Linked DNA regions of Homo sapiens: regions 1, 2, 3, 4, 5 and 6 are each linked to region 7. The links are contacts of gene promoters, found by promoter capture Hi-C in blood cells and fetal thymus (Javierre and others, 2016). All regions are on one chromosome and are shown on one strand. The core of a region is centred on a gene start or on the middle of the fragment in contact, and the rest is flanking DNA. Distances in the headings are between cores, read along the strand shown.

What was found. The method cuts DNA at HindIII sites, captures the fragments that hold promoters and counts their contacts. A CHiCAGO score of 5 or more calls a contact.
Region 1: a contact is called between a fragment that was not itself captured here and the fragment with the promoter of BOLA3 in region 7, in 17 of 17 cell types (activated CD4 T cells, naive CD4 T cells, total CD8 T cells and 14 more). The highest score is 28.6, in activated CD4 T cells.
Region 2: a fragment that was not itself captured here is called in contact with the fragment with the promoter of BOLA3 in region 7 in 1 of 17 cell types (non-activated CD4 T cells); the score reaches 5.1 in non-activated CD4 T cells.
Region 3: a fragment that was not itself captured here is called in contact with the fragment with the promoter of BOLA3 in region 7 in 17 of 17 cell types (activated CD4 T cells, naive CD8 T cells, total CD8 T cells and 14 more); the score reaches 21.2 in activated CD4 T cells.
Region 4: a contact is called between a fragment that was not itself captured here and the fragment with the promoter of BOLA3 in region 7, in 3 of 17 cell types (activated CD4 T cells, non-activated CD4 T cells and naive CD4 T cells). The highest score is 6.2, in activated CD4 T cells.
Region 5: the fragment with the promoter of INO80B here is called in contact with the fragment with the promoter of BOLA3 in region 7 in 11 of 17 cell types (fetal thymus, total CD4 T cells, naive CD8 T cells and 8 more); the score reaches 12.5 in fetal thymus.
Region 6: a contact is called between a fragment that was not itself captured here and the fragment with the promoter of BOLA3 in region 7, in 1 of 17 cell types (naive CD8 T cells). The highest score is 5.9, in naive CD8 T cells.

Annotation. Positions count from the first base shown.
Region 1 is chr2:73,863,718-73,866,417 of GRCh38, reverse strand. It overlaps STAMBP (STAM binding protein), which reads right to left. Exons shown (of 10, transcript NM_213622.4): 10 at 1-2,700. Among named protein-coding and RNA genes, the nearest start is that of ACTG2, 28 kb to the left of the region's middle. The HindIII fragment of the contact is 256 bases long and covers 1,204-1,459 here.
Region 2 is chr2:74,526,930-74,529,629 of GRCh38, reverse strand. It overlaps AUP1 (AUP1 lipid droplet regulating VLDL assembly factor), which reads left to right. Exons shown (of 12, transcript NM_181575.5): 1 at 1-50; 2 at 131-268; 3 at 348-498; 4 at 695-879; 5 at 1,141-1,213; 6 at 1,309-1,382; 7 at 1,624-1,690; 8 at 1,792-1,894; 9 at 2,040-2,159; 10 at 2,267-2,382; 11 at 2,571-2,689. The coding sequence starts at 1. It also overlaps a transcript of HTRA2 not described here. Among named protein-coding and RNA genes, the nearest start is that of AUP1, 1.4 kb to the left of the region's middle. RefSeq lists enhancers at 1-478, 1-480. The HindIII fragment of the contact is 826 bases long and covers 928-1,753 here.
Region 3 is chr2:73,842,852-73,845,551 of GRCh38, reverse strand. STAMBP (STAM binding protein) reads right to left here. Exons shown (of 10, transcript NM_213622.4): 3 at 664-739; 4 at 290-385. The region is part of intron 1 of LOC112268419 (a long non-coding RNA gene); the gene reads left to right. Among named protein-coding and RNA genes, the nearest start is that of STAMBP, 15 kb to the right of the region's middle. The HindIII fragment of the contact is 1,321 bases long and covers 631-1,951 here.
Region 4 is chr2:74,417,126-74,419,825 of GRCh38, reverse strand. All of the region lies in intron 1 of C2orf81 (chromosome 2 open reading frame 81), which reads left to right. It also overlaps the pseudogene HMGA1P8. Among named protein-coding and RNA genes, the nearest start is that of C2orf81, 3.1 kb to the left of the region's middle. The HindIII fragment of the contact is 4,299 bases long and covers 1-2,700 here.
Region 5 is chr2:74,453,672-74,456,371 of GRCh38, reverse strand. It overlaps INO80B (INO80 complex subunit B), which reads right to left and starts at 1,285. Exons shown (of 5, transcript NM_031288.4): 1 at 1,198-1,285; 2 at 774-966; 3 at 436-554; 4 at 100-269. The coding sequence starts at 1,255. INO80B-WBP1 (INO80B-WBP1 readthrough (NMD candidate)) reads right to left here and starts at 1,349. Exons shown (of 8, transcript NR_037849.1): 1 at 1,198-1,349; 2 at 774-966; 3 at 436-554; 4 at 100-269. RefSeq lists an enhancer at 1,182-1,771. The HindIII fragment of the contact is 3,309 bases long and covers 805-2,700 here.
Region 6 is chr2:74,476,375-74,479,074 of GRCh38, reverse strand. All of the region lies in intron 5 of CCDC142 (coiled-coil domain containing 142), which reads left to right. Among named protein-coding and RNA genes, the nearest start is that of MRPL53, 5.0 kb to the right of the region's middle. The HindIII fragment of the contact is 6,387 bases long and covers 1-2,700 here.
Region 7 is chr2:74,146,633-74,149,332 of GRCh38, reverse strand. It overlaps BOLA3 (bolA family member 3), which reads left to right and starts at 1,421. Exons shown (of 4, transcript NM_212552.3): 1 at 1,421-1,512. The coding sequence starts at 1,459. BOLA3-DT (BOLA3 divergent transcript) reads right to left here and starts at 1,352. Exons shown (of 3, transcript NR_045636.1): 1 at 1,110-1,352; 2 at 855-983; 3 at 1-635. RefSeq lists an enhancer at 1,008-1,667 and a silencer at 1,201-1,680. The HindIII fragment of the contact is 11,442 bases long and covers 1-2,700 here.

The DNA of each region.
Region 1 (2,700 bases), core at 82-2,581, 280 kb after region 7:
TGACTTACATAAAAGACAATATGAAAACGCTGCAAAACAACAAAAAACACACACAACAAATTGTGGGAAACAGACTATAGTTGCCACTGGAGTTCAAGGAAGGAAGCCCTCAGAGTGAACCTACCAGTGAGGGAAGGCACTAAAGGAACTGGAAGGACAGAGCCCATGGTTATGTAGCGTCACAGTGCTGGATTCTGGATCTAACAGGCTGATTGAATGATGCCGGACACACCTGTAAGTTAAGGCCCAGCTTCTAATCTCAAACAGGCTAAGGTGAACTAAAAATTGAACCCTGGATTAAGGGGTGAAGACTTCAGTGAAGAGGGCCAATGTTCTGCCCTTCCTTCATCTCAAGAAGTAGTTGGAACAACAAAAGTGGGAGGTTCAAACAAGAGTGGGCTGGAGCCAAGGGAAAATAGAGATGATGTAATTTCTTTAGGTCCTGGGTCTGCTCTGGGTCTTAGGGAGAATGAGTAGAAATTTGGAATGGTTCTTGAGGTCCTCAGTTTTCCTGCTCAGAACATCAAGGTAGACCAGATAGCTTTGGAGTCAAAGCCTAGCTAGTGCTAAAGAATGTGGATCTGCCCAAAGATTCCTCTAGCTGTATGCTGAATGGGCAGAGGTCCAGAAGATAGAAGCAACCGCACCCCAACTGTAACATTTCAAGAAAGACAAGTAACAAATCCCTTATATCTTTATAGCATCTTTCAACTAACGTAGGCCTCATATGCATATAGATGTCATTCTGTCATCATTTGAGGTAGGCATATTAGACTGATCCCATTTTACAGATTTTAAAGAAATTTAGGAAGTTAAGTGATTTGCTGGTGAATGTATAGCTGGGCCTAGAAGCAAAGCCTTAAATGTTCAACCTGGCACTTCCCCTGGAGAGGATAATATTCCAATAGTCCTGATCTAAACAGGATTTCCAGTGCCCCAAGCAAAGCTCCTCAGAAAAAGACATGATCCTTGACTCAGAAGTTCTACTCTGGGCTCACATGTTTGAAAGATCCTTGGACAAACTGGTCTCCAAACTCAGGTGGGGTTAAAACACTGAGATATGAGGGATGGGAGGCACAATATCAATAGCTGACTCTATTTTCTAGGGAACAACATCTACTCTGGTCCTAAAACTGTGTTCTCAAAATCCACTGGAAACATATCAAAATTGCAGGATTCACCAGACTTTCACTCATTAAAGCTTTGCTCCTAATAGCCTCCATTCTTCTCAACCCCAATATGAAAAATTTCTCTTTCAACTGGGGTAACTAAAACCCCAAAGAAGCCATCAACAGTCAAAAGGGATAGGCACTTACAATTTTAAATTCTGTGGTACCAAATGAAAGCTGAAATCCTTGCCTCTCAAGCAAGAAAATCCACCATGACACTGGCCCAAGGGAATGTTTCTCTCATGCTGCCTTTTATGGTATCTGGTACCCAAGACAATATTACAAAAGCTTAAGGGTTTCTTCTTCTTCCCCTTTGGTCCCATTTAACAAGGAGTATGTGAAAGTGATCATCTGAAAAAACCCAGCTCTGCTCTGACCCCAAGCAAATCAGCTCCTCTGATTCTCTCTGCACCTGGCCTATGGCACTTTGGTAGGTTTGTGCCTCCCAGGGCAACTGGGACATTGTTTGGCAACCTGACGATGCTTTTGTCTCCCCTCTCAGCCCAGAACACTAAGTATGGTACTTGTGCAGCTTGCAAGAGTGGAAAAGTCTCCTGGTCTTTGAGCCTCGGGAACCCAGGAGTCAGTCCCTTTAGCCAAATAGTCATTACCCTTTCAATACAATGTCTTTCCTCAGGTTGCGTGGTCTTTGTCCCTTTTACCCACAGTATTCCTTTCCTCTTTTCCCGACCGCTCTGGCTACTCCTCTTTCTCTCCGGCCTATCCAGTCTCAGGGCTTGTGGGCTGGCTTGATTCCACGTCTCCTCCACAGAGGTAAGATGAAGACAGAGACACTTAGACCATCCTATGCAGAGTGCCTCTGCAGTGGCTAGGCTGCAGCAGATATGAAGAGGGATCTACAGACTGATTTCCTGCACCCATCTAGCCACTAAGATATCTTGTGCCTAGAGGAAGAGAAAAGAAAATATAGCAGTTTGGTGATCAGTCTGTGATCAATGTGGTTGCAACGTATGATATGTTGTTGACCTGGCTGAATGTCTTTGGTGGGCAGAGACGGATAAGAGAGCTCACAATTCTTAGGTATCAAAGACCAATGCAGTGGTTGTCAACCCTGGTTGTACTTGAGAATTCTAGCAGCTTGAAAGACAAATGCAGAAACAACATCTGAGGCTCCACCCTAGAGATTCAGCTTTAATTGGTGGGGGGTAGAACACAGGCATCAGTATTTTTTAAATTGCTCCCTAGATATTTGAATATATAGCCAGGGGTAAGAACTTTAAGTGGAAAGTTCTGACTAAAAGCTAAATTTAGATTTTCAGCAATGGGAAGCTATTGCAGGTTTTTGAGCAAGAGAGAAAACATGAACATGGCTGGAATGTGAGAAGCTTCTCCTGATCAAAGTGTGCAGAACAGACTGGAATGAAGAAATGCTAAAAACAAAGAGACTTGGTAAAAGCCAACGGCTACAGTCGAAATAAAAGGTAAGAAAGCCCTAAGCTAAGTGGTAGACAAAGAATGGGAAGAAGGGGATGGATTTCCCAAAAGCAGAGGACTGGGCAATTTCAGGACT
Region 2 (2,700 bases), core at 91-2,590, 380 kb before region 7:
ATGGAGCTTCCCTCAGGGCCGGGGCCGGAGCGGCTCTTTGACTCGCACCGGTAAGAGACCCGGCGGGAAGAGACCGATCCCCGCGTGCTCTCGGCCTTCGGCGCCTGACCACTTCGCCTCTCGCCCCCAGGCTTCCGGGTGACTGCTTCCTACTGCTCGTGCTGCTGCTCTACGCGCCAGTCGGGTTCTGCCTCCTCGTCCTGCGCCTCTTTCTCGGGATCCACGTCTTCCTGGTCAGCTGCGCGCTGCCAGACAGCGTCCTTCGCAGGTTCCGACGCGGGCGTTCGGGGAGTGTCAGAGCTGGGTCTGGCCCGAGGCCACACAGTCACCACCTCCTGTGTCCCCAGATTCGTAGTGCGGACCATGTGTGCGGTGCTAGGGCTCGTGGCCCGGCAGGAGGACTCCGGACTCCGGGATCACAGTGTCAGGGTCCTCATTTCCAACCATGTGACACCTTTCGACCACAACATAGTCAATTTGCTTACCACCTGTAGCACCGTGAGTGAGAGCGAGGCCGAGAGCGCCACGGGGCGGTTCCCTGGGGCCCAGCTGAAGGCCCCCCTGTCCCCACTCGCGTTCCCCATGGAGGATACTGAGCCTTACCCCTAACCCCGATCCTCTACCCAACATGTCAGTTTTTTTTTTCATTTTCCTCAATATTTTTCTTCTTGCTTTCTCTTCTCCTGGTTCCCAGCCTCTACTCAATAGTCCCCCCAGCTTTGTGTGCTGGTCTCGGGGCTTCATGGAGATGAATGGGCGGGGGGAGTTGGTGGAGTCACTCAAGAGATTCTGTGCTTCCACGAGGCTTCCCCCCACTCCTCTGCTGCTATTCCCTGAGGAAGAGGCCACCAATGGCCGGGAGGGGCTCCTGCGCTTCAGGTGGGTTTAGCACAGGTATGGGGCGCCAGCTGGGTAGGTGGTCAAGCTTGTGGGCCCTTGAGTTTTTACAACTTTCTTCGGCCCTTAGACCCCATCATCTCCAGTTCATTTCCTTTCTGTCCACTTTAAGTTCTTTCTCCTGAATCCCTTCATTCTTCAATTATGTGCTTGTAGAGTTTGACAGTTGCCTGTTATAAGGCAGGTGTGAGCTGCTGACTAGGCTGGCTGGATTCCCATCCTACTTTCTCCTTCCTCTTCTAGTTCCTGGCCATTTTCTATCCAAGATGTGGTACAACCTCTTACCCTGCAAGTTCAGAGACCCCTGGTCTCTGTGGTGAGTGTGTGTTGAACAGGGAATCTCTGGGGCTTGAAGGGGAAATTTCCCATCCCTGGCCCTGGCTTAGGCCTCATCTCATGCCCTCCCCTCAGACGGTGTCAGATGCCTCCTGGGTCTCAGAACTGCTGTGGTCACTTTTCGTCCCTTTCACGGTGTATCAAGTAAGGTATTAACTGTCCTCACATTTTGGTCGCTGGGGAGAGGCTCACCTCAAGGTCAAGGAATTAGTGGCCTCTGCCCTGTCCATTTGTAGATCTTTATATCAAGGTTCTACCACAGAGGCAACACAAAGTATTTACAGTATTTACTATTTTCCCACCCACCATGCAAAGAGGTACCAAAGTGGGGAATGGTGACAGCCTCTACCCTGGGTGCCCACAACATAGCCCTGGATTGTTTCTTTGCAGGTGGCTTCGTCCTGTTCATCGCCAACTAGGGGAAGCGAATGAGGAGTTTGCACTCCGTGTACAACAGGTGGTCGGGTGCACAGACAGGGTGGAGGCGGGGTCCCTGCTTAGGAGGAGAGGGAGGAAAGCTTGAGATCTTGACACTTCCAGTCTTCCAATTCTCCCTAGCTGGTGGCCAAGGAATTGGGCCAGACAGGGACACGGCTCACTCCAGCTGACAAAGCAGAGCACATGAAGCGACAAAGACACCCCAGATTGCGCCCCCAGTCAGGTATGTGGTCTCTATACATTACAGCTTTTGGGGTTTTTTTTTTTCGGCCTACTGTGATTCCTCCCCTATTTCTGTGCTAGTTAGCCTCTCCTTCTAGTTCTCTACTTACCAGAATTTCTTTTTTCTTTTTTTCCTTTTTCCACAGCCCAGTCTTCTTTCCCTCCCTCCCCTGGTCCTTCTCCTGATGTGCAACTGGCAACTCTGGCTCAGAGAGTCAAGGAAGTTTTGCCCCATGTGCCATTGGGTGTCATCCAGAGAGACCTGGGTATGGGAAAGGGTGGCCCCACACTGGGAGATGGGCACAGGGAGGAAAAGTGGGTTGTGAAGGAAGAAAGTAAGTAGGGAGTGGACTCCCTTCTCTTTTCTCCCCAGCCAAGACTGGCTGTGTAGACTTGACTATCACTAATCTGCTTGAGGGGGCCGTAGCTTTCATGCCTGAAGACATCACCAAGGGAACTCAGTCCCTACCCACAGCCTCTGCCTCCAAGGTGAGACCCAGGAAATGGTCAGATCCAAGTGTTGGGGTGAGTTGGGGGCAGGCTATGTACTCCCTTATCCCTGACCTTTCTTTTTTGATCCTGAGACCCTAGCATAGTGCCTCTCTTGCAAAGTAGGCATTCGATGCGTGTTTAATGATGATGACTCCGCAAGCCCTCTGACATTGTGATCACCTCAGTTTCCCAGCTCTGGCCCGGTGACCCCTCAGCCAACAGCCCTAACATTTGCCAAGTCTTCCTGGGCCCGGCAGGAGAGCCTGCAGGAGCGCAAGCAAGCACTATATGAATACGCAAGAAGGTGAGGGGGTT
Region 3 (2,700 bases), core at 42-2,541, 300 kb after region 7:
CTATGTTTTGGAGAGAATGTTCATTGTTCTTATGATTCTCACTCTAGACATAGCAGGTAGGCGACAGATTTTCTGTCCCTCAAGTCACTCTCTTCGACAAATAGGCTATATCTGTGTTACAACCCTGAGCCTAACCACTGGTGTTCTACTTTTTTGAGTTTCTGGTCTTTGCCCAAAAAAGGTGAAACAGCACATTAAAAGCACAGGATATATTGAAATGTCATATTACAATCCCAGGGCACAGCCTAAAAAAGCAAAATAATTTTCTTCTTAGCTGTTATATACTGACCTTTTCTTCATTATATTCTGTATATTCTTTGGTATATCGTTTTAACAGCTCTGCCTTCAGCTCTTCTGCTTTGGGAAATGCAATCTCCTTTAATTTCTGAGACACAAAACAGAAAATAGAATTAGAACAATGCCAGAAAATTACAGAATCCAAAAGAAGACTTAAGTCAAGTTGGTGACTGCAACATTTCCCAAAATGATTTAAAATACCCCCTACTGTACCATACCTGCTACTTCAGAACTGTTGTGGTGAAATGGCCTTATCTCCTATTGCAGGATCTGGTACTCAGATGCAGAGACTACTACTTTTATCTTGAAGTCAGTCTGTGCTGCTCTGAAGCTTTTAGATGGGCAACAATGAAAGTGAAGACCCACCTTTACTGTGTCTTTCTTTTCAGGAATGACAGCAGATTTGTAATCTCGATGTTTTGGTAGTTTCTCAATAAAGAGCCTAAGGAAACAGTTCAAAATGATTATGAAGCAAATGGTCCAAATGTCCATAAGACCCTAAAGCTATGCAACCCCCTTATCCTGAAGCCCTTATATGAAAGGTTCCAGAAGTGCAGCGGAGGGAGAGCTAATACACCCAGCTGGGCCATGCTCCTTTCCCATCTCTATCCCCCTAAAGAGCCAGAGTCTTTTCCTCTACTCCCAAACTAGGCAGCAAGCACCAGACTCCTACAATGAAAAAGATGGCCAAAAAAATTTTAAAAAGCCTTTCTTGTGCCCAAAAATGTACCTCCAAAGAAAGAGATCTTTTTCTTGTTGTGACGTGACAGGTTTTCAAAGGAAAGGGCTTCTGTCACATAGCAGTCTTCAGAGAACCGTTTGGCAGCCATGGGCAGGAAGCAAGAGAAAACCATGTTTCCTTACTCCTTCTAGCTCTTATGTAACCTTTAACTTTGGCTTTTTTCCTTTGGGATTCGTGTTCCTTCAAAGAAGAATACTACTTTGCATCATACAAAAATGCATGGAAATACTTAGTGCATGTGTTCTATGCATGTAGTATGTGCATATTACATGTTAGCATGCACTGTCTTTGATGAAAAGTGCTTAGGTAAATATAAGATGCTAGATTTCATCTTTTGGTTCTTGTCCATGGCTCTAAAGCTCAGTGGGGAGAATAAACTTAATTAATTCACAAATCTCTAACATTTAAGACATCTACTTAGGGGCAGTGAAAATAAATAAAAGTCCAGTAACCTGTCACAGAAAGAAAGTGGCAGATTCAGAATTTCAGTATGAGCAGGCTGGCTCCAGAGCCTATTCTTTTAACCACTACACCATACTTCTTCCATACGGATTCTGGAATGTCTAGAACTACTGGAGGGATTCTGAACAAAGATGTCTTTTAACAGAATTAAGTTGTAATACACAGAAACTGAGATAAAAAAATAAATTGAAGGTAGCTTGCTGATAGCTCTAAAATATTATATTGTAATTGGGATAAACTCTTTTCTACTTACTGCCCATGGGGCAGAAGTAATTGGAAGAAGAATCCTCAATAAAGAAAAAAGATGATCCCCACCAAAACAAACTTTCTAAAGATAAGTCCTCATCCTTCAGTTCTATATTAGGCACACAAGTTTCATTTTGATCCAACTTGATAAGGCTCCTCAAGGCAGGGATGGACTCTAAAATAAAAATGGTTCTTTAAAAAGCTTCCTTTTGGGTTCATGAAGAAGATATAAAAGAGGCTGGGTGCGGTGGCTCATGCCTGTAATCCCAGCACTTTGGGAGACCGAGGCAGGAAGACTGCTTGAGCCCAGGAGTTCAAGACCAGCCTGGGTAACAGGGTGAGACCTTGTCTCTATTTATATTTTTTAATTTATATATATATATACATATATATATATACATACACAAACATATATAACAAAACATAAAAAAACACAAAAATTAGCTGGGTGTGGTGGTATGCATCTGTAGTCCCAGCTGCTTGGGAGGCTGAGGCAGGAGGATCTCTCGATCCCAGAAGTCTGAGGTTACAGTGAGCTTTGATCACACCACTGCACTCCAGCCTGGGTGACAGAGGGAGATCCTATCTCTATTTGGAAAAAAAAAAAAAAAAAGAAAGATATAAAACAGTTTCCTTGAAGTCTATATTTAAAAGAAATACAGATTCATTTGTTCAAACCATAAAGTCCTGAAGAATCTATTAAGATAAATAAGACATATTTCTTATATTTTAGAGACTGATAGATGATTCAGTAGAACTCTCATCTTAGCCCCAAAAGCCAAGATACATATTAATATTTACTACCTTTAGCAGGCTGAATGTGCTTTGTATTGAGGCCTGAATCAGCTAAGAAAGTACTATGTCATATAAACACTATGTTTTATTTTTACTTATGCTCTTATTATAGAACTACACTGCGAGCTTCCTGAGGCCAGAGATTTCTGTGTTTCATG
Region 4 (2,700 bases), core at 111-2,610, 270 kb before region 7:
CACTCCAGCCTGGGTGACAGAGCGAGATTCCGTCTCAAAAACAAAAACAAACAAACAAAAAAAGATTACCTTTAATCATTGCATAATATTTCAGTATATATAGCATGTCAATTATTTATTCTCTTTTTAAAGACATGTTTTCAATATTCTGCTATTATAAAAATACCGCAGAGAATTTGTTGGAGAATATATTTTTATCTTCATTTCAGAAAATGCCTTTTGGTTGTATTTATAGAACTGAAATTGCAGGGTTGAGGAAGTGAAAACATTTTTTAATGTCTTCATGCATACTGTTGCAGCATGGTATCACACTAAACCTTTGCCAATGCTGAGTATTCTTGTTTTTAAAATAATTCCAATTTGATGAACTAGAAATCAGAATGTCAATACTATATTTATTAGTCATCTACAGTCCCTCTCTTGTGAAATGTCATGTCCTTTGCTTATCTTTGGGATCTTAAATGGTTTTTCTTCTTATAGTTTAAATTTTTATTGCAATATAGCCCAAGCTGGACTTGAACTCCTGGGCTCAAGCAATCCCCCTGCCTCAGCCTCCCGAGCAGCTGGTACTGTGGGTGTGCGCCACTGTGCCTGGCCATTTTTCTTCTTCTATTTTTTATTTTATTAGTTTTTTTTTTCTTTTTTGAGACAGAGTCTCGCTCTGTCACCCAGGCTGGAGTTCAGTAGCATGATCTCAGCTCACTGCAAACTCTGCCTCCCGGGTTCAAGTGATTCTCGTGCCTCAGCCTCCCTAGTAGCTGGAATTACAGGCGCCCACCACCATGCCTGGCTAATTTTTGTATTATTAGTAGAGACGGGGTTTCACCATGTTGGCTAGGCTGGTCTCGAACTCCTGACCTCAAATGATCCACCCACCTCGGCCTCCCAAAGTGCTGGGATTACAGGCGTGAGCCACTGCGCCCGGCCATTTTTTTTTTTATATGAGCTTTTAATTTACTCGGGGATATTTATCTTTTTTCATATTTGTTGCAAATGTCTTTGAGAGGCTCTGGAGTCAGACAGACTTGCATGTGAATGCATTCTGACTTCACTACATCCTACTTGTATGATACTGGGTAAATTACCATAAAATGGAGATAAGAATAGTTGGTTAAAAAAAAAAAATGTAGAGAACTTTTTAAGCTCCCCTGAGCCGGGGCTGTGCTCTTCTAAGTGGGACTCCGAGCCTGGGCTATTTCTGGCGCTGGCGCGGCTCCAGGAAGGCATCCGCATTTGCGACCAGGGGCGGCTGCGGTGGAGACTGGCCTGTCCTCAGCGCCCAGCACCGCTGCTCCCGGCAAACCGGAGCATGCACCGCAGGCCAGCGGCCGAGTTCGCCCATCCCAGCCATCACTTTTCCAACTAGTCCTTAGAGAAGGGAAGATGAGCGAGTCGAGCTCGAAGTCCAGCCAGCCCTTGGCCTCCAAGCAGAAAAAGGACGGCACTGAGAAGCGGGGCCGTGGCAGGCCGCGCAAGCAGCCTCCGGTGAGTCCCAGGACAGCGCTGGTAGGGAGTCAGAAGGAGCTCAGCGAAGTGCCAACACCTAAGAGACCTCGGGGCCGACCAAAGGGAAGCAAAAACAAGGGTGCTGCCAAGACCGGGAAAACCACCACAACTCTGGGAAGGAAACCAAGGGGAAGACCCAAAAAACTGGAGAAGGAGGAAGAGAAGGGCATCTCGCAGGAGTCCTCACTGGAGGAGCAGCTTCCTTCTGGGACTGGACAGCTTTGATCTGCTCCCAACCCCCCACCTCCCACCCCCCACCCCTTCCCTACACCCACCATCACCACCGCCTCCAGCCACCACCCTCATCTTCCACCTGCACCTTCACCACCACACTACACAACACACCAGCCGCTGCAGGTCCCTATGGGCTGAGTGGAGAGGACTTTTCCCCTGGCCTCTTCCCATCCCTACCCCCTCCTCCCCCCGTCCACCCACTCATACACATGTGCCCTCCTGGACAAGGCTAATGTCCTGCTTAGCCGCACCCTGCACCTGCTGCGTCCCTGATCCCTTGGTGGTGACATTGCTCTCTGGGCTTTTGGTTTGGGAGCCACTTCTCTGCTCCTCCACTGTTGCCTCTGGCTTCCCATAGAGGGGCCTGGGAGGGTTCCCCTGGTCTTAAAAGGGGCCCAAGCCCCCATTCTGGCACACCCCACTCCACTGTCCTGGCAGCAGCAGGTGTGGCCAATGGAGGGGGGTGCTGGCCCCCAGGATTCCCCCAGCCAAACTGTCTTTGTCACCACGTGAGGCTCACACCTTTCATCCTTCCCCACCTTCCCTAGTCCCTGCACTAGGTTGGACAGCCCCCATTGGCTACAGGAAAGCGGGAGGGGTGTGAGTCCCCTACTCCCTCTTTGCAGTGGCCCCAGCCCCCTTACCGTCTGCCTGGGATCTGAGTACATATTGCAGTGATGGAGATGCAGTCACCTATTGTCCAGGTGAGGCCCATGAGCCCTGTGGCAGCTACCTGAGGTGGGCTGGGGCTGCTCCCCCAACCCTACTTTGCTTCTACCACTTGGCCATTTTCCTCTCCTCAGATGGGGCACCAATAACAAGGAGCTCACCCTTCCCACTCCCAGCCCTCCTGCTCCTGCCACCCCCCCAGGTTCTGGTTCCATTTTTCCTTTGTTCACAAACTACCTCTGGACAGTTGTTTTGTTTTTGGTTCAATGTTCCATTCTTTGACATCTGTCA
Region 5 (2,700 bases), core at 36-2,535, 310 kb before region 7:
TACTATCGATATCCCCAATGCCACGCAAAGTGCGTGGGTCGTGGAGAGTTCTCAATACTGTATACATTTGGTGAGTGAATAAACAATGAACCAACATACCTGTCGAGCAGTAAGCAGCCGCTCATTGATCTCCTTCTTGAGGTCTCCATTGTCATCCAGCTCCCCCTTCTCCAGGGCATCCAGCCACCTCTGTTCCTCCTCTTCCTCCTGACCCCCTAACCCTCCTGATAGGTCCCGAAGTGGAGAGGGAGAGAGATTACTGTCTTCATCTGGGAAGGAAGTTGGAGAAAGAAAAACAGAATTGTTCAGATGGGGCACCCTAATTTGGCTGAGTTAATACTGGGACATGGAAAATCCTAACCCATTTCAGAACCAACCTTCTTTCTTTAGGCGGGTATAATAAGAAACCCAGTTTCCCCACCTCCAGATCCTCACCCAGCCAGGCACGGTACTGCTCAAGGGGGACTCCTTCCATAGGTTCCTCTTCATTATCCACAACCATAAGGGGAGAGGGTGAGCGAGGCCCCTCTGGGATCACAGTGAAGGTAGGAACACTGCAGAGAAGCAACACTACTCTTTAAAATGAGCAAGCGTCTCCTCCTCCTACTCCGTAGCTACACCCAACTTTCCCCACCCTCTTAGACTCTTGCTGCCTAAATCTGGACCCTGAAGTCACAGTGTCCATTCGGTCTTCTAGAAAGCCCAGTCGGCTTCTAACTACTATCTCTGCTCCTAAAGTTCCCCTTATAAAACTATGACCCTCTTGGCCTCACCTCTTGGTCCCCAGGACTTGTCCCCCAAGCTTGATTTTGAGTTTGAGCTGAGGCTTGGCAGGGGACGGCTGCGTGGGCCCGGCGTCTTCTTCCTGATGGTGTTTCTTCTTGTGTTTCTTCTTGTGCTTCTTGTGTTTTTTCTTGTGCACTCCATGGCCATGGGCACCCGCCAGGCTCAACTCCAGGGCTTCTCCTGTGGAAGGAAAGCCTGTCGACAGTGTTTGGCCGGAGGGTGGCAGGGGAAGCCCTGAATAACCTAAGCCCCTACTGGATCCCACCCTTCCCGCAGTACTCGCTGTTACCATAACAACAGCACCGCCTTTCTCCTTGCCACCTGTGGCCGAAGTACCCTGGACTCTCCGAGGAGCAAGAACGGGACTTCTTTTCTAACACGACCTAAATTGCTTGATCTATTCGCGCTTACCCGGCTCAGGGGCCTCCATAGCCCCAGAGGTGCTCCCACGCCGCCACAGCTTACTCATGAGGTCCTGCGAGGAAAGGGGACTAGAAATGGTTGGGACACACGCAGACACGCCTTTTCCGCCCCGCGGAAAAACTGGAGCCAGCAAAACAACCAGTTACTTCCGGTTCATGGCAACCATCCTTGTGCGGGGCACGCTTCGCGTCCAAAATCGTCCCTGAGAAACGAGGATCCTTCCAACGAACGTTCCGGTCCCTCTGAGGTCGGGACAGCCCAAATGGGCAGGGCTTTCCCCTGGCTCCGCCTCCCCACGCTAGCTTTCAGAACTCAGCGCGGATGAGTCAATTATTGAACACAAGTTTGGTGAATGTATACACTAGACCAAGTGCGGGAAGCTAGTCTAAGAGGATGCAAAGATGAATATGAACACCGCCCCTGTCCTTGAGGAACTCACAGTTGGGTGGAGGAATACATAAACTATATTGATGACAAAATGGCCGAAATGGTTAAACAGCACGAGTGCCCTAAGAGCAGATGCAGTTTAGGTATTTAAACTTCAATTTTCATAAGTAGGGAAATGAATAAATGAATTACGGTGCAGCTGTACAATGCGGAACACCATATTGCTAAGAAAAGTTGAGTTGTAAGTAATTAATGAGATTGACACAGAATTTAAACAATCTAAGTGTCCTGATGAATTGGTGTATCCATACAGTGGGATGTTAAGCAGCTTGGAAAAGAAATGAGGCGCCCCAGAAGGCTATCTAGGAAATTGGTAAGAGTCATTTGCTGATGAGCATCTAGAGAACAAGGGTGGATGGCGACCTATTTTTTTATGATTATACCCTCTTGTGCCTTTTGAATTTTGTATAAAACGTGTATATTTTACCTCATTTTAAAAAAGACATAAAAACAGGTAGGTTTGTATGTGCTGATACACGAAATAAGAAAAGTAAATTTCCCATCCTGGCTAATACGATGAAACCCCGTCTCTACTAAAAATACAAAAAAAAAAAAAAAAATTAGCCGGCGTGATGGCACGCGCCTGTAGTCCCAGCTACTCGGGAGGCTGAGGCAGGAGAATCGCTTGAACCCGGGAGGTGGAGGTCGCAGTGAGCCGAGATCGCGCCACTGCACTCCAGCCTGGTCGACAGAGCGGGACTCCGTCTCAAAAAAAAGAAAAAAAAAAAAAAGTAAATTTCAAGATTATGTGATCTGATTTTTAAAAGCATAATATACTAGCAAATACATAGAAAAAATTGAGGAATGTATACCTGTTAATGTTGGTTAACTGTAGAAGTTGGGGTTGAGGAACTTTCACTATTTAGGTATGTAATGTATTTTCTTACAGCCAATATATATCACGTTTATAATTAGAAAATAACACCTATATACATATATCTAAATATATATGAGTGTCTGAGCAAGGTAACAGCAGTGAAAAGTCTCTTACATTTCAGTGATAAAATTATCAAGAATCAATGAGCAATTATATTGGGGAATCCA
Region 6 (2,700 bases), core at 189-2,688, 330 kb before region 7:
CCACAGGTGGAAGCCACAATGCCCAGCTACTTTTTTTTTTTTTTTTTTTGAGAAGGTGTCTCACTCTGTCACCCAGGCTGGAGTGCAGTGGCGTGATCTCTACTCACTGCAACCTCCACCTCTCAGGTTCAAGTGATTCTCCTGCCTCAGCCTCCTGAGTGGCTGGGATTACAGGCGCCTGCCACCACGCCCAGCTAGTTTTTGTATTTTTAGTAGAGATGGGTTTCACCATGTTGGCCAGGCTGGTCTGGAACCCTTGACCTCAGGTGATCCACCCACCTCAGCCTCCCAAAGTGCTGGGATTATAGGTGTGAGCCACCACACCCGGCCAATGCCCAGCTACTTAAAAAAATTTTTTTTTTTGTAGAGACAAGGTTTTGCCATGTTGCCCAGGCTGGTCTTGAACCCTTTTTAAAAATCTTTTTAAAAAACTTTTTTGGGAGGCCAAGGTGGGTGGATCGCCTGAGGTCAGGAGTTCAAGACCAGCCTGCCCAACGTGGTGAAACCCCGTCTCTACTAAAAATACAAAAAAGTAGCCGGTATGGTGGCAGGTGCCTGTAATCCTAGCTACTTCTGAGGCTGAGGCAGGAGAATCGCTTGAACCTAGGAGGCGGAAGTTGCAGTGAGCCGAGATAGCGCCATTGCACTCCAGCCTGGGCAACAAGAACAAAAATTCTGTCTCAAAAAAAAAACAGAAAACAAAAAAATTTTTTGTCCAGGTGCAGTGGCTCACACCTGTAATCCCAGCACTTTGGGAAACCGAGGCAGGTGGATCATCTGAGGTTAGGAGATCAAGACCGGCCTGGCCAACATGGTGAAACCCTGTCTCTTCTAAAAATACAAAAATTAGCTGGACATTGTGGTGTACACCTGTAATCCCAGCTACTCGGGAGGCTGAGGCAGGAGAATCACTTGAATCCGGGAGGCGGAGGTTCCAGTGAGTCGAGAGCGTGCCATTGCATTCCAGCCTGGGCAACAGAGTGAGACTCAAAAAAAAAAAAGTATATATATATATTTTATTTATATTATATCTATATATATTTTATTTATATTATATCTATTTATATATATATATATTTTTTTTTTAATTAGAAGTTTGGCTCGTGACATAGCCCTCAGGAGATCTGAGAACATGTGCCCTGTTCTTGAACTCTTGAGCTCAAGCAATCCACCGCCTTGGCCTCCCAAAGTTCTGGGATTACAGGCATGAGCCTCCACACCCAGCCTGGCTCCCAGAGTTCTAGTTAAACATCTGCATTTGCCTGTTGGGCATTTCTACCTCAGTTTACTGCTGTCTACTTAAACTCAACATGCCCCAGAGCAGGCTCATCATGAGTACTGCACACAGTGACGGTCATAGAGCCCTGAGGAAGGAAGGCTATAGTGGGCATGTGGTTAAAGAACGCTCCATACATGGCCTATGGCTGGAGATGGTGGCTGGGAAGCCTCAGAGGAGTGGCTGGGGTTACTGGAAGTGGGCAGTTTGTAGATCCTTGTGGGGGTAGCAGAGAGGTGGCCTTACCAGAGCAGAGGTTCCTTTTGTGGGTATGTTCACTGGGGTTGGGTGTGGGGTAGGGTAGTAAGCAATTTGGCATCAAATTGTGGAGGGCATGAACACCAGCCCCAACAATTTGCGCTTTACCTCATAAGTGAGGGGGTGACATTTTAAGAGCAGAAGGGTGTAATCCCAGCATTTCGGGAGGCCGAGATGGGTGGATAACTTGAGGTCAGGAGTTTGTGACCAGCCTGGCCAACATGGTAAAACCCCATCTCTACTAAAAATACAAAAATTAGCCAGGCATGGTGACGGGTGCCTGTAATCCCAGCTGCTCAGAGGCTGAGGCATGAGAATCGGTTGAACCCAGGAGGCAGAGGTTGCAGTGATCTGAGATTGCGCAACTGCACTCCAGCCTGGGCAATAAGAGCGAAACTTGGTCTCAAAAAAAAAAAAAGAGGCATTGTGAGTTTTCTTCCTGTTTGGACTATAAGATCCCAGTGGGTGGGGGAGAGACTGTCACACACTCTGCACCTTGTATTCCCTCAGTGTTGAGTACAGAGGCTCCTAACAAAAGTCCGTTGACAAAAGGGCAATTTCCTTGACATAAATAAGGGAGGAGAAGGGGGCTTGCATTTACTGGAGAAGAGAGGAAGATTTTGGATTTAGACAGGTTGTCAGATGTGCCAGGAGCCATATGGGCTCCACTCCATGTCTGGCCGCCCCCAGGTCTATCCTGTCTTCAGGCTCCCTGGCATCTACCATTTCTTTACAGAGCAGCTGCCATTAACCACATTTACTGGGGTTCCTCTCCCTCAAGATGGGCTGTAGAGCAGAAACCAGCTTTATTGCTGTGTTCTCTCCCTCCAAAAACAACCTATCAAACCAAAGAAACAAACCCAGCATATAGGCCTTTTCTTGCTTTATGGGTTATATTGCTCTGGAGTGGGCTGTGAAGAATAATAATATATAATAATGCCTTTCAATGTAAGGACATTCCAAAACTTCCTGAGTCTCAGAACATTCAAATAGTCATTGCTTCTGGTTTACATACAGTTCTTGTCTTCCTTTTGTAGGTGATAACCAAAAGATCATTGTAGGCTGGGTGTAGTGGCTTAGTGGCTCACATCTGTAATCCCAGCACTTTGGCAGGCAGAGGCAGGCCGATCACCTGAGATCAGGAGTTTGAGACCAGCCTGACCAAC
Region 7 (2,700 bases), core at 172-2,671:
TAAACCAGTCTCTGATTAGCCAGACTTGGGTCCTGTTTCCATTCCTAAAGCTGGGGATAGGTGCGCCTCATCTAAACCATGCTGTCTGAATAGCAAGGGAATGGTTCACCATTACTACCCTGCTTGAGAAAAAATTTTTTTGACAGTTTAAATTGCATCATTGACAGCAATGAAGAAAACTTAGCAAATCATCTCTAAACATTTTAAAAGAATGAAGCAGAAAATGTAAGACAGGCTAGTAATTGATCCAAAGGAGAAATTCTGAAGGCCAGAACATAGGAGTCAGTTAATACTGTAATAAATAAATTAGACAATATCCATATATAACAACTATAGGTCCAATCCATCCAAGTGCAACGCTGAAGGGACGTATTGATTGCATAGGCCAGAATGTTGGCAAAAAGCTGGTAAATCCTGCAGGGTGCCACCAGACCGCGTGCTGCAAACAAATAACAGCTAGAGAGAGGAGAGGCTTGGTTGAATTTCGGCCTTGACTGGTCTGAAGACTCCAGAGGCGGGACGAATTTGCGGACAGTTCTACCCCATCCCACATGGCGTCAGCTTCCCTTCCATTCTCATGACTCCATGGTCCATGGCTCCAACCTGGGCCTCTGTTAGGCTGTGTCCTGTGGCACCTTAAACTCAGGCAAATTAAGAACTGTTCGTGGACTCTGCTCAGCCCCCACCTAACCCTCCATCCAAGTCATTGTCCAAGCCAGAAACTGGAGTCATCTCAGATACCTTCCCACTCACACCTCCACATGCAGTCGCTCGATTCCATTCACCTCCCAAGTGTCTCAGTTCATTCTTCCATCCCTCCCGCCACTGGTTTAGTTAGGCCCCTCCATTCTCACCTGGACCATCGCGGTAGCCTCGGAGCTTCTGACTGTGTCTCTGGTTGCAGCCCCTACACGCTCTCTTCCTTACAGGAGCGGAGCGATCTTTCTCAAGCGCGAATCAAATCCTTCCACGAGTCCCCGCACCTGGAGCGAAGGCCAAACTCCTCAGCTTAGAAGCTAGACTGCCAGAGTAGGGAGTGGGAATGGAAAAGTACATCAGGAGCACGAGGGGTATTCGGATGAGGGAAGGCCAGTATAGGGCGCCGAGACCTTGGAGTGTTTCTGAGCTGAGGAGGAATGAGACTTTCACGCGGGCAAGGGGACCCTATCCATGAAACAGGCCCTGGGGAGACTGAAGGAGAGCGGCGCGAGCGAAGGCAGAGGGCGGGGCCCCGAGGTCGGCAGGCGCTGCAGTGTCGGGGGTGGCGAGTCAGCCAGGGCCAGGGGATGGCGGGGTGGGGCCGGAGCCAGGCGACCGGAGGCCTCCGGGGCGGGGCCGGGAGGCTGACGGCCTCCGGGCGGCAGGGGGCGGCCTCTCCCACGGCGGCGGCTCTCGGTCCCCCGCTCCGCGTCTTTCGGGCATACAGTGACCTCGGGCGGCGGGTCACGTCGGCCGGGCATGGCTGCATGGAGCCCGGCCGCGGCAGCGCCTCTCCTCCGCGGGATCCGCGGGGTGAGCGTGGGCAGGGTCGGGGCTGCTCTCCCCGGGACGGGAGCTGCGGAGGGACCGCGGGGCCGGCGGCTGTCGGGGCTTGAGGACTGGCTCCCGGAGGGCGCGCGCGGCACTGGCAATGGGGGGCTCCTCTTCCTTTCTCTCATTCATTCTTTCATTCATTCATTCACTCAGCGACAACGGCATTCGAAATTTCAAGCTCTGGCGCGCTCTAGGGGAGCTCCCGAGCTGGGTGGAGGTTGGAGGTCAGGCGGACAGACACATGAACAGTCATAATACTGCGGGCACAGGAAAAAAAAAGGATTGGTTTACCGAGCAGAAGACAGGAGTCATAGCCCAGAGTCAAGGCGTGGGTGCGAGGGACTGCAGCGGGGCCGGGGCCTTGGGAAGGTCGACTGGGCCTCTGACCTTGATCCTCCTCCAAATCCCACACTACCGGAGCAGAACCCAAGCAGGGGGCACTTCCCACGCGCTCTCCTAATCTCTCCCCCTTTCTGAACCATCCTTTGCTTCAGCTCATACCATTCTTTCTCTTAACTTTCATTTTCCTTCTCCCCTGGTTCTGAACCTGCCTGCCCTGTGCATGAAGAGAAGTTCTTCCACTGCGGTGACTTTCAGCGTGGACAGTGATCATCTGGGGATGTCAGTTGATTGTTCCACTAAAGGCCGCTGCCCACAGATCCGCTAAGATGAAAGGCTTCTCCCAAGGATTCTGCAACGCTCACCTCTCTCACCCCTTAGTAGCTGCCGATTCTGTCTGCCATCTGGTTACTCTCTGCCTTTACCCTCAAGATTCTGCCCCCAGAAGCAGCTCCACCCCACCCTCACTCCTGGCAATCCTGTCCAGCCTCTCAACATCGAGTTTCTGTCCCTCCACACAGCAGGCAGACAATCACACTCTGGACCTTTCTCCTGTCTTGCATTTCTGTCCCTAATTGACTAGTTCTTCCCCTGCTCATTCATTCATCCAGCACCAAGTGCCTCTGAGGGCCTGCCCTGGGGTCAGCTCTGGGATGCTGCCGGACTCATTCCTGGCCTATAAGACCAGTGGTGAGAGAGCCAGTGCACAGCTCATTTTAAAGGAGGTGCTCTGAGATTCTGTGACACAGGACCCTGCTCTGAGCTATCAGGAAGGACTGAGGGGTAGAGGGGTGGGACCTTCAGCACCAGCACCCATGAACGGCCCTA